2 separate regions of the Homo sapiens genome follow, and region 2 is linked to region 1. The links are contacts of gene promoters, found by promoter capture Hi-C in human tissues and cell types (Jung and others, 2019). All regions are on one chromosome and are shown on one strand. Each heading gives the region's core, a stretch centred on a gene start or on the middle of the fragment in contact. The rest is flanking DNA. Distances are from core to core; before and after follow the strand shown. Region 1 holds the start of ABCA1 (ATP binding cassette subfamily A member 1). Region 2 overlaps FSD1L (fibronectin type III and SPRY domain containing 1 like).

Evidence for each region. The method cuts DNA at HindIII sites, captures the fragments that hold promoters and counts their contacts. A contact is called where the count stands out against the background at its distance.
Region 2: a contact is called between a fragment that was not itself captured here and the fragment with the promoter of ABCA1 in region 1, in 1 of the 25 tissues and cell types used here (dorsolateral prefrontal cortex).

Annotation. Positions count from the first base shown.
Region 1 is chr9:104,926,296-104,930,905 of GRCh38, forward strand. ABCA1 (ATP binding cassette subfamily A member 1) reads right to left here and starts at 1,860. Exons shown (of 50, transcript NM_005502.4): 1 at 1,640-1,860. It overlaps LOC105376196 (a long non-coding RNA gene), which reads left to right and starts at 494. Exons shown (of 3, transcript NR_188620.1): 1 at 494-1,615; 2 at 3,213-3,429. RefSeq lists silencers at 254-493, 1,830-2,019 and enhancers at 1,170-1,229, 1,550-1,629. The HindIII fragment of the contact is 15,965 bases long and covers 1-4,610 here.
Region 2 is chr9:105,532,615-105,537,224 of GRCh38, forward strand. FSD1L (fibronectin type III and SPRY domain containing 1 like) reads left to right here. Exons shown (of 14, transcript NM_001145313.3): 11 at 1,879-1,979; 12 at 2,453-2,704. Among named protein-coding and RNA genes, the nearest start is that of FKTN, 23 kb to the right of the region's middle. The HindIII fragment of the contact is 5,852 bases long and covers 1-4,610 here.

The DNA of each region.
Region 1 (4,610 bases), core at 610-3,109:
ACTTTTTTCTTTGTTTATTTTTAATCTTATTTCTTTGCTTCTTTTTGATAAAAGATATACCTAAAGAGGCACCTACACATAACCCTGGCACCGTCCGCCGCCCCAAGAACCTTCCTGCTTTACCAATGGCCTGGGAGTTGGCAAACACGCTAACAAAAAAAAAAACCAAAAAAACAAAAAAAAAAAAACAAAACGGGCTTTCGCCTCAACCTCATAGTTCCTCCCCGTCTGCAACCACCGGTCTTCACCGGATTCACAGTCGGAACCGCGAGCAAAGACACCTAGTAGAGCCGGCCGATTCCTAGGTCCTCCGGCCAGGAGGCGCTGCGGGCCAGTCTCCGGGGGCCACCGCAGCCCGCGCGCCCAGCACCCCCACCCTCACGGCAGAGCCCAGCCCAGCCCCGCGGCGGAGCTCCGAGTTCTGCGCCGCCCGCCGGGGTTACTCCCGGTCATTCCACGGCACCACCTCGGCCCAGCTTCCCCATCTGCGCCCAGGCAGAAGCTGCCCCGAGAGACCAGCAGCAACGGTCTGGAAGATGGGGCTGCAGGGAACGTGGGAGAGGGAGGATTGGGCACCCCACCTCCGGGTCTCCGCAGGCTCTCCTAAGTCTTGTTTTTAAAAGAAACAAAACTCGGCCGCGCGCGGTGGCTCACGCCTATAATCCCAGCACTTGGGGAGGCCGAGGCCGGTGGATCACCTGAGGTCGAGGGTTCGAGACCAGCCTGGCCAACAAGTTGAAACCCCGTCTCTACTAAAAATACAAAAATTAGCTGGATGTGGTGACGCGCCTGTAATCCCAGCTACTCAGGAGGCTGAGGCAGGAGAATCGCTTGAACCCGGGAGGCGGAGGTTGCAGTGAGCGGAGATCGTTCCATTGCACTCCAGCCTGGGCGACAGACCGAGACTTAAAGGAAAGAAAAAAAAGAAAAAGAAAAGGAAACAAAACTCGTCCGCGCTCTGCGCCAGGGACACCAGCTCAGCTGAGCGCACGGAGACTGTAGGCAGGACCTCCCTACCCCTCAGGTCAAACAAAGACCCAAGGCCTCTAGTGAGCAATAGCACCACGGACCGTTTGGGACACCTCCAACTCGAGTTCCCGGATTCACAGTCCGGGACTGTGCCGCTCCAGTCCCGGGGAGCATATAGCCAATTCCCAGGTCAGAACAGACCAGCTTCTTAAGAACCGAGTGAAGACTCAGTGCTGGCATTTGTCTCCGTAGGTACTGGCCGACCTGCAACCAGAAGGGTTTCTAGCCAGCTCAGGGCCCTCCGAACAAAGCAGCGCTCGGTGCCGGACCTGCAGCTCTCCCCACCCGGCAGCAGCGCCCTCAGCACGCCCGGGAACCCCCGACCCCTCTGAGCCCGGGGTACTGCGCCCGGGTCTCCACGCCCAGAGATGCTCCCCGGTCTCCACCGTCGGGCAAGCCCCAAGCGCAGCAGCGCAGAGTCCTGGGGTCACCAGAGCTCGTACTAGGACATCGTCTCCCCATTTAACACCGCCTCCGGTCCCATCTGAGTTGCAAGTGGTGGGGATGTGGGGCTCCGGATCAAAGTCCCCGAAACCGAGCACTTCCCGAAGCCTCCTTGGCCTCGAAACAAAACAATAACGCCCAAGTAAGTCACTGGAGAGCCTCTTACCTGTTTTCCACTTTTGTGTTTGCGTCTCTTTCTCCTACCCCTTGACAAGCCTTCCGGAGAAGGGGAGAAAACAGAACCGGGGAAAAAACAAGGAGCAAAGCGCCCTGAGAACCGGCTCTGTTGGTGCGCGGAGCTCCCCGCCCTGCCCTGCCGCAGCCCGGGAGAGAAGGGTCGGCTCGGCTCTGCGGGTCCCGGCCCCACTCACTCTCGCTCGCAATTACGGGGTTTTTGCCGGGACTAGTTCCTTTTATAGATTCGGCTGCACCGAGCGCAGAGGTTACTATCGGTCAAAGCCTGTGCTCTCCCTCCTCCCCGCCCCGTTCCCGGCCTCTGTTTATGTAGTTCAGTCACTCAGCAGAAAGCACGTGGAGCCGGGGCCCGCCCCTTAAACGGGCGACGTTCAGCCGCCCACGACACATCTAGGGAGTTGGGGGGAGGTGGGTGGGGTGGGGGTGGAGGGTACAGCAGGTGTCTTAGGGTCCGCGGTCTGCGTCCCCTTCCCCCGCCCGGGCCCGCCGGCCTAAGACGCGCGGGAAGCGCTGGGCTCGGGGCTGCGCCGCAGACTCTCTAGTCCACGTTCCCGGCAGCCAAGGGCACCAGTGGAATTTGCTTCCTCTAAATCCTGCTTTCCGCAATTTTTTTTTCCTTTGTTAGTTTCCTCAGCCGGAGGGAGGGATTGGGGGAGAGAGAGCTCTAGGCTGAATCTCCCTCAGGACGCCAATCATTTTGTCTTGTCTTTTGTTTCCTTTCAAAGGCCTAGGCTGGGGTGAGGGGAAGGCGGACAGTCCTCTGGGTAATGGGCTGCTTTTGTTTTCCCCCCACAAACCTGGACTTTGATTTTTGATAGGCGACCTACTGCCTTGGAGATTCCCAGCCTGAGCTCCCCAGGTCCCTCAGAGGACCCGAGAGGAACATCTTACTGCTTCTCTTCATAAATTGAGAGGAAGGAGGCCACAAAAACAAAAAAAGAAACAAACAAACAAAAACACAGAACAATATGGACCAGCCCCCTTTTAATTTCATTATATTGATCAGCCTCCCTGTGATAAAAACACAGGACTTGTATTTAGTTTGTATACATTTGTGAAGTGCAGCCAGAGAATTGCAGTCGTGTAAAATTATGTAGCCACTCCAGACCTCCAACTTATCTGTTTGCCTTTGGCTGTAGGGGAGCAAAACTACCCAAAACACTGGAGGGGCAAAAAAAAAGGCAAGAGTAGGAATGCAGGCCTACACACCATATGTCTAAATATTTAAGTCATCCATCAAGCCAACAAACTAAATGTCACCTTATTCTGGCCAAAACTCAGGTCAAACTGTGAAGAGTCTAAATATGAATCTGCCCTGAAGGGCAGATTCATAGAAGACTCAGGACAGACCCGTAGAAGAGGCCCAAGCAGGCCCTGGAAGTGCACGTGGAGGCCACAAGGTCTCCTACCTTGACAAAGATACCTTTGTAGCCACCTTGAAGGGCAGATTCACATTTAGACTCTTCACAGTTTGACCTGAGTTTTGGCCAGAATGAGGTGGCATGAGAGAGCTGCCCCAAGCCTACTTCTCTTCCCACCTCCAGCTCCATCATATTCCAGAACTCCCACCACCTGCATACAGACATTCAGCTGCACAAGCCCCCTCCATGCTACAGTCAACAGGATCTCCAGGCCACGGCTCAAGCCCAGGTACTCACATCAGTGGTTCTATCAACACTCAGGACAGACCCATAGAAGAGGCCCAAGCAGGCCCTGGAAGTGCATGTGGAGGCCACCAGGCAAGGAATTCTGGAGTCCCAGGTACTCATAACTCTGGGTGGCATGGCCCCTTTGCACCATGGACTGTTTGCCCTTAGAAAGGGATGGATCTGAGCTGGGCGCAGTGGCTCATGCCTGTAATCCCAGCACTTTGGGAGGCCAAGGTGGGCAGCTCACCTCAGGTCAGGAGTTCGAAACCAACCTGGCCAACATGATGAAACCCAGTCTTTACTAAAAATACAAAAATTAGCCAGATGTGGTGGCGAGCGCCTGTTATCTCAGGAGGCTGAGGCAGGAGAATCGCTTGAACCCGGGAGGCAGAGGTTACAGTGAGTCGAGATCATGCCACTGCACTCCAGCCTGAGTGACAGAGCAAGACTCCGTGTCAAGAAAAATAAAAAGAAAGGGATGGATCTCAGAAAGGCCAGAGATGAGCTTTCTAAAGCCCAAGGCCCAGGAGAGCGGACCCCCTTGCCTCAGTCAAAGAATAACCTTGGTCAATAAATTGGGTTTTGGGGTCAAACTTGACAACCACATGATGAGCAATTTACGTAAAGTCTTTCTGCCTCTGTTTCATCTTGTTTTTTTCTTTTTTCATCTTTTTTTCCTTCCTTCCTTCCTTCCTTCCTCCCCCCCTCCCTCCTCCCCTCCCCTCCCCTCATCTCCTCTCCTCTCCTCTTTCTTTCTTTCTCTTTCATTTCTTTTTTTTGAGACAGGGTCTTGCTCTGTCTACCCAGGCTGGAGTGCAGTGATCCAATCATGGCTCAGTGTAGACTTGACTCCCTGGGCTCAAGCGATCCTCCCACCTTAGCCTCCCAAGTAGCTGGGACCACAGGTGCATGCCACCACACCCATCTAATTTTCGTATTTTTTTTGTAGAGACAGGGTTTTGCCATGTTATCCAGGCTGGTCTCAAACTCTGGAGCTCAAGCGATCCTCTGGCCTCAGCCTCCCAAAGTGCTGGGATTACAGGCATTAGCCATTGTGCCCGGCCTGTTTCTTCATCTTTAAAATGGAGAGAAGATGTATATTCTGTCTTCCTCAAAGGGGTTTTCTGAAAGTGAACTTTGTTGAAACCTTTGAGCTCCTTGGCAGAATGATGTTATAAAAGCAGAGAGTGTTATTAAAAGGTGTTATCTTTCCTAGCATGATTTTAGAGAGTAATTAGATCTCCCTGACCCTCCATCTCCTCTCTCCTTCTTCTCCTACCTATTTGAAGTCGA
Region 2 (4,610 bases), core at 1,103-3,602, 610 kb after region 1:
TACTGCCTACCTTAGCACAAGTTTCACAGAAATTTTAATCTACCTATCCACATTCAGCTTTGCTCATGCTATCTGTTCAAACAGAACTTATAGTCAGTTTTTAGTTGTCTTTTTAAAGAAACATCTTTACACAAAGGACCTTTGAAATCCCTTGGGAAGAATTAAACTAAGTCATGTGAGTGTTGTAGTTCTAGACTTACACTTTTGCTACTTAATATTATACACTAAAAAGGAGACAGTTGAAGTGGTCCTGAGTTCTTTGAAATTGTCTAATAAGTCTGATTTCTGACAGCAAGACATTTAAATAATGCAGAATGAAGTCACTGAGTCATATGAAATGAATCATATGAAATGACTTTAAGTTTTATCTGTATTCTTGCTTTGCCATCAGGGATTTCTAGTCTAGTATTGGTAGCTTATATTAAAATCTACTCAGTTGATCTTTTCTTAGGAAGAAAATTTCTAGTGCTATGTTAGAAAAAAGTGTTTTTATTTCTAACTAGTGGTGAGAATATAGTTATCCCCATATCCCCCAAATACTTTTAGGATAATCTTGACCAAAAAATCTTTTGTTAAATGCAGTAATTCAATATAATTAAAATGTTTTTGAAAACATCTTTGGGACTGAATCTGTTTTGAGTTTTTGAATGTTAGTAAACATCCCAATACTCCAGTTTTCCATATATCATATAATTTGATATAAGAGGAAGTCAAGGTGGATCTTGTCTATTTGAGTAGGAGAAATGCTTGATAATACTTGATATTATCCTGTGCAAGGATTTGGATAATTGCCATTTCCATCTTTTTTTTTTTTTTTTTTTTTTTTGAGATGGCGTCTAGCCCTGTTGCCCAGGCTGGAGTGCAGTGGCGCCATCTCGGCTCACTACAACCTCTGCTTCCTGGGTTCAGGCAATTCTCCTGCCTCAGCCTCCCGAGTAGCTGGGATTACAGGCACCCACAACCACACCCAGCTAATTTTTGTATTTTTAGTAGAAACGGGGTTTCACTGTGTTGCCCAGGCTGGTCTCGAACTCCAGACTTCGAGATCCGCCTGTCTTGGCCTCTCAAATTGCTGAGATTAGAAGCATGAGCCACCGCGTGCAGCCCCCCCGTCCCTTTTTTTTTAAGACAGAGTTTTGCTCTTGTTGCCTAGGCTGGAGTGCAATGGTGCAATCATGGCTCACCCGCAACCTCTGACTCCTGGGTTCAAGCGATTCTCCTGCCTCAGCCTCCCGAGTAGCTGGGATTACAGGCATGTGCCACCACGCCCTACTAATTTTGTATTTTTAGTAGAGATGGGGTTTCTCCACGTTAGTCAGGCTCGTCTCGAACTCCCGACCTCAGGTGATCCTCCTGCCTTGGCGCCTCCCAAAGTGCTGGGATTACAGGTGTGAGCCACCGTGCCTGGCCGCCATTTCTATTTTTAAGAAGGTAAGATTCAGAGCAAAAATACTCACTGCTTATAAAAAGAGTTATTTAGTCAGGATTATAAGAAGAAACCTATTTTTGCCTTCATTTAACTGCAAAAAAATGTAAGCTGTAACTCATTATCTTTCTTGAGTTCTTTTTTTTCTTTAGTAAATCTTGTCACATTTTAGCATTGTTTCTTATTTCAGCCGTGTATTCTTTGTATAAGCCTTGCTCAGTCTGCATGCCATTAGTGTTTTCAGCCTGCTTTGTATTGATAGCTTCTTACATTTCAGTGTTTATAATTGACAGCGCTCTTTAATTAACTAGTTCAGATCAAATTGAATGGTGTTATTTCTATAACATAATTAGAAATCTTTTCAGAGGTTCCTTCCATGATTTCTAGTTTTAGTTTATGAAACATTTACAGTATAAAATATTTGTTTTTCTTTTTTCTTTTTGTTTATATAGAAGTGGTACACCATCCCCAAAACGAACATCTGTAGGCTCCAGGCCACCAGCAGTAAGAGGCAGTAGAGATCGTTTTACTGGAGAATCATACACAGTGCTGGGTAGGACAAAACATAATTGTTTTTCATTATCTCAGATTAAAGGCATCACAATCACACTGGTGGACTTTCCACTCAAAGTGACTGCCTGTATATTGAATAAATCTTTGCAAGAAATTTCTCCCAATTGAAGCCTAATTACTTTGGGGAGTTTTCAGATTGTCTTATTATTATTGATACTTTTAAAACTCTACTTCAGCTTACGTAGTGTTCCCACATCTTTATATATAAGCCGGGAGGGGGGATAGTAAGGAAGAAAACCTCTGAAGCGTTTTATATTCAAGAATAGTACTAAACGTAAAGGTAAAGTTAGAGCAGGTACTCAGCATTTAATGTCTGTGTGTTAACATGATTATTCTTATAGGAAAAGTACTTGAATAAAAATTTTTGTGTCTTTTTTTGGGACGAGTGGTAGGTAAAACTGTGTGACTCATAAGGAAGAGATGAGTCAAATCTACCTTTCTGATCTTTTGTAGGAGACACTGCTATTGAAAGTGGACAACATTATTGGGAGGTCAAGGCCCAGAAGGATTGTAAATCCTACAGTGTGGGAGTAGCATACAAAACGTTGGGGAAATTTGACCAATTGGGAAAGACAAACACTAGTTGGTGTATCCATGTCAACAACTGGCTACAAAACACATTTGCAGCAAAGCATAATAATAAAGTCAAAGCTTTGGATGTTACTGTTCCTGAAAAAATAGGTGTATTTTGTGATTTTGATGGGGGTAAGTTTATTTTCTCGTAGGTTATTTCATCATAGTTGCTTGCATTTCAGTACCTTTCACTGGTAATCATCTATACAGGATTTCCATTAGTATTGTGGGAAGGACATTTTGATCAGGTAGGCTTTTGATTGCAATCATAATCTCAATTCTAGAATTGACTGGAATGGTATATGTGATGTCTGCCTGGAGCCCTATAAAAGCACTCATTTATAATATACTAAGTCTGAAAGATTTTGCTAATTTTAGTCTTCAGCACTAACATTTCTTCTGTCCATTTTAATTCCTTCCTTACCATGTTTTATTACCTACCTCTAAAGAGTGATAGTCAAAATTTTCTAGTTGAAGTAGATCTTAGAAATTACCCAACCCAGGATGAATACCCCATTTTACATGATGTGATTATTACACATTGCATGCCTATATGAAAGCATCTCATATACTGCGTAAACATACACACCTACTATGTACCTACAAAAATTAAAAAAAAATTCAAGAAGATACCAGAGCCATATTTTCTACTATCCTAGTAAACATAAGCTATACAGCAAATATTTACTGTGCCAAACCGCATCACACTTGAAACGAATGGAATGTTCTTAATTTTCAAGTTGCTGTCTTTAAAAATATTCTTCAGAATGACTCATGATATCTTTAGAGGGGCCAAAGGGGTTTCCCCTCAATATCAGAATTTCTTTACTTACAAAATTATTAACACAGTGTAGTCTAATCCAAAAAAGAAAAGAAATTACTCCATCTGCCACACAGTATACAGTTCTTAGTACACTATCTCTGCAGGTAGTTGCCACTTATGTGCCTGAAGAACTTTTAATGTGAAGTTTACTGTCTTAGAAAGCAGCCTGTTTCATTGTTGGACAGCTCTTGGTTAGAAGATTTTTCTTAAGTTGACTCACATTGTTTCCCTTAAATTTTCCCATCTGAATAAACACAGAATTACGTTTCCTCACTCATGTTCACACGATAATCCTTTATTAAAAACTTTCTTGCCCTGTTTTTCCAGACCATATATTCTGTTATTAGCTGCCCCTGTTAAAATTTAATTTTTCCAAGTCTTTATAATCTCCTATGGCTGTCTAGTATGTCAGTGTTTTTCTTAAAGGTTGGTCTTAGAGTGGAACACATGACCTCTGACCAGCAAAGGACAGTAATTTGGCTATGCTATTTCTAATAGTATGACTTAGCACTGCTGATCAATATTGAGCTTGTAGCTACCCTAATCCATTAGATCTTTTTTCACGGCATTATGTCAAATTGTCTTTTTCTTTTGTTAGGCAGTTTATGGTTTTGGTTTTTTTTGTTTTGTTTTGTTTTGTTTTTGAGACAGAGTCTTACTCTGTTGTCCAGGCTGGAGTGCAGTGGCTCAGTCTCAGCTCACTGCAACCTCTGCCTCCCATGTTCAAGCGACTCTCCTGCCTCAGCCTCCTGAGTTAGCTGGGATTACAGGTGCATGCCACCACGCCTGGCTAATTTTTGTATTTTTAGTAGAGACGGGGTTTCACCATGCTGGCCAGGCTGGTCTCAAACTCCTGACCTCAAGTGATCCACCTGGCTGGGCCTCCCAAAGTGCAGGGATTACTGCCATGAGCCACCACACCCAGCCAGTTTATGGTTTTTAAAAATAACTCAATGTTATATGTAATGCAAATGAAGACTATTACATTTACCCTTTTTTAGTTTCATCTTAATAGATTTGGCCCAAATTTCCCGTCTTAAAATTATCTAAAAATTTACTTGATATTTATATTTTGAAAAAATTTTAAAGCTCATTGAATTAGTTATTTCATAAGCATATTCTCTACAGTCATCTAATGTATAATAATTTTGAAGATGACATAATATTGAACTAAAGTAATTCCCTAGATGTTTTTTCTCCAAGTTGACACTTAAG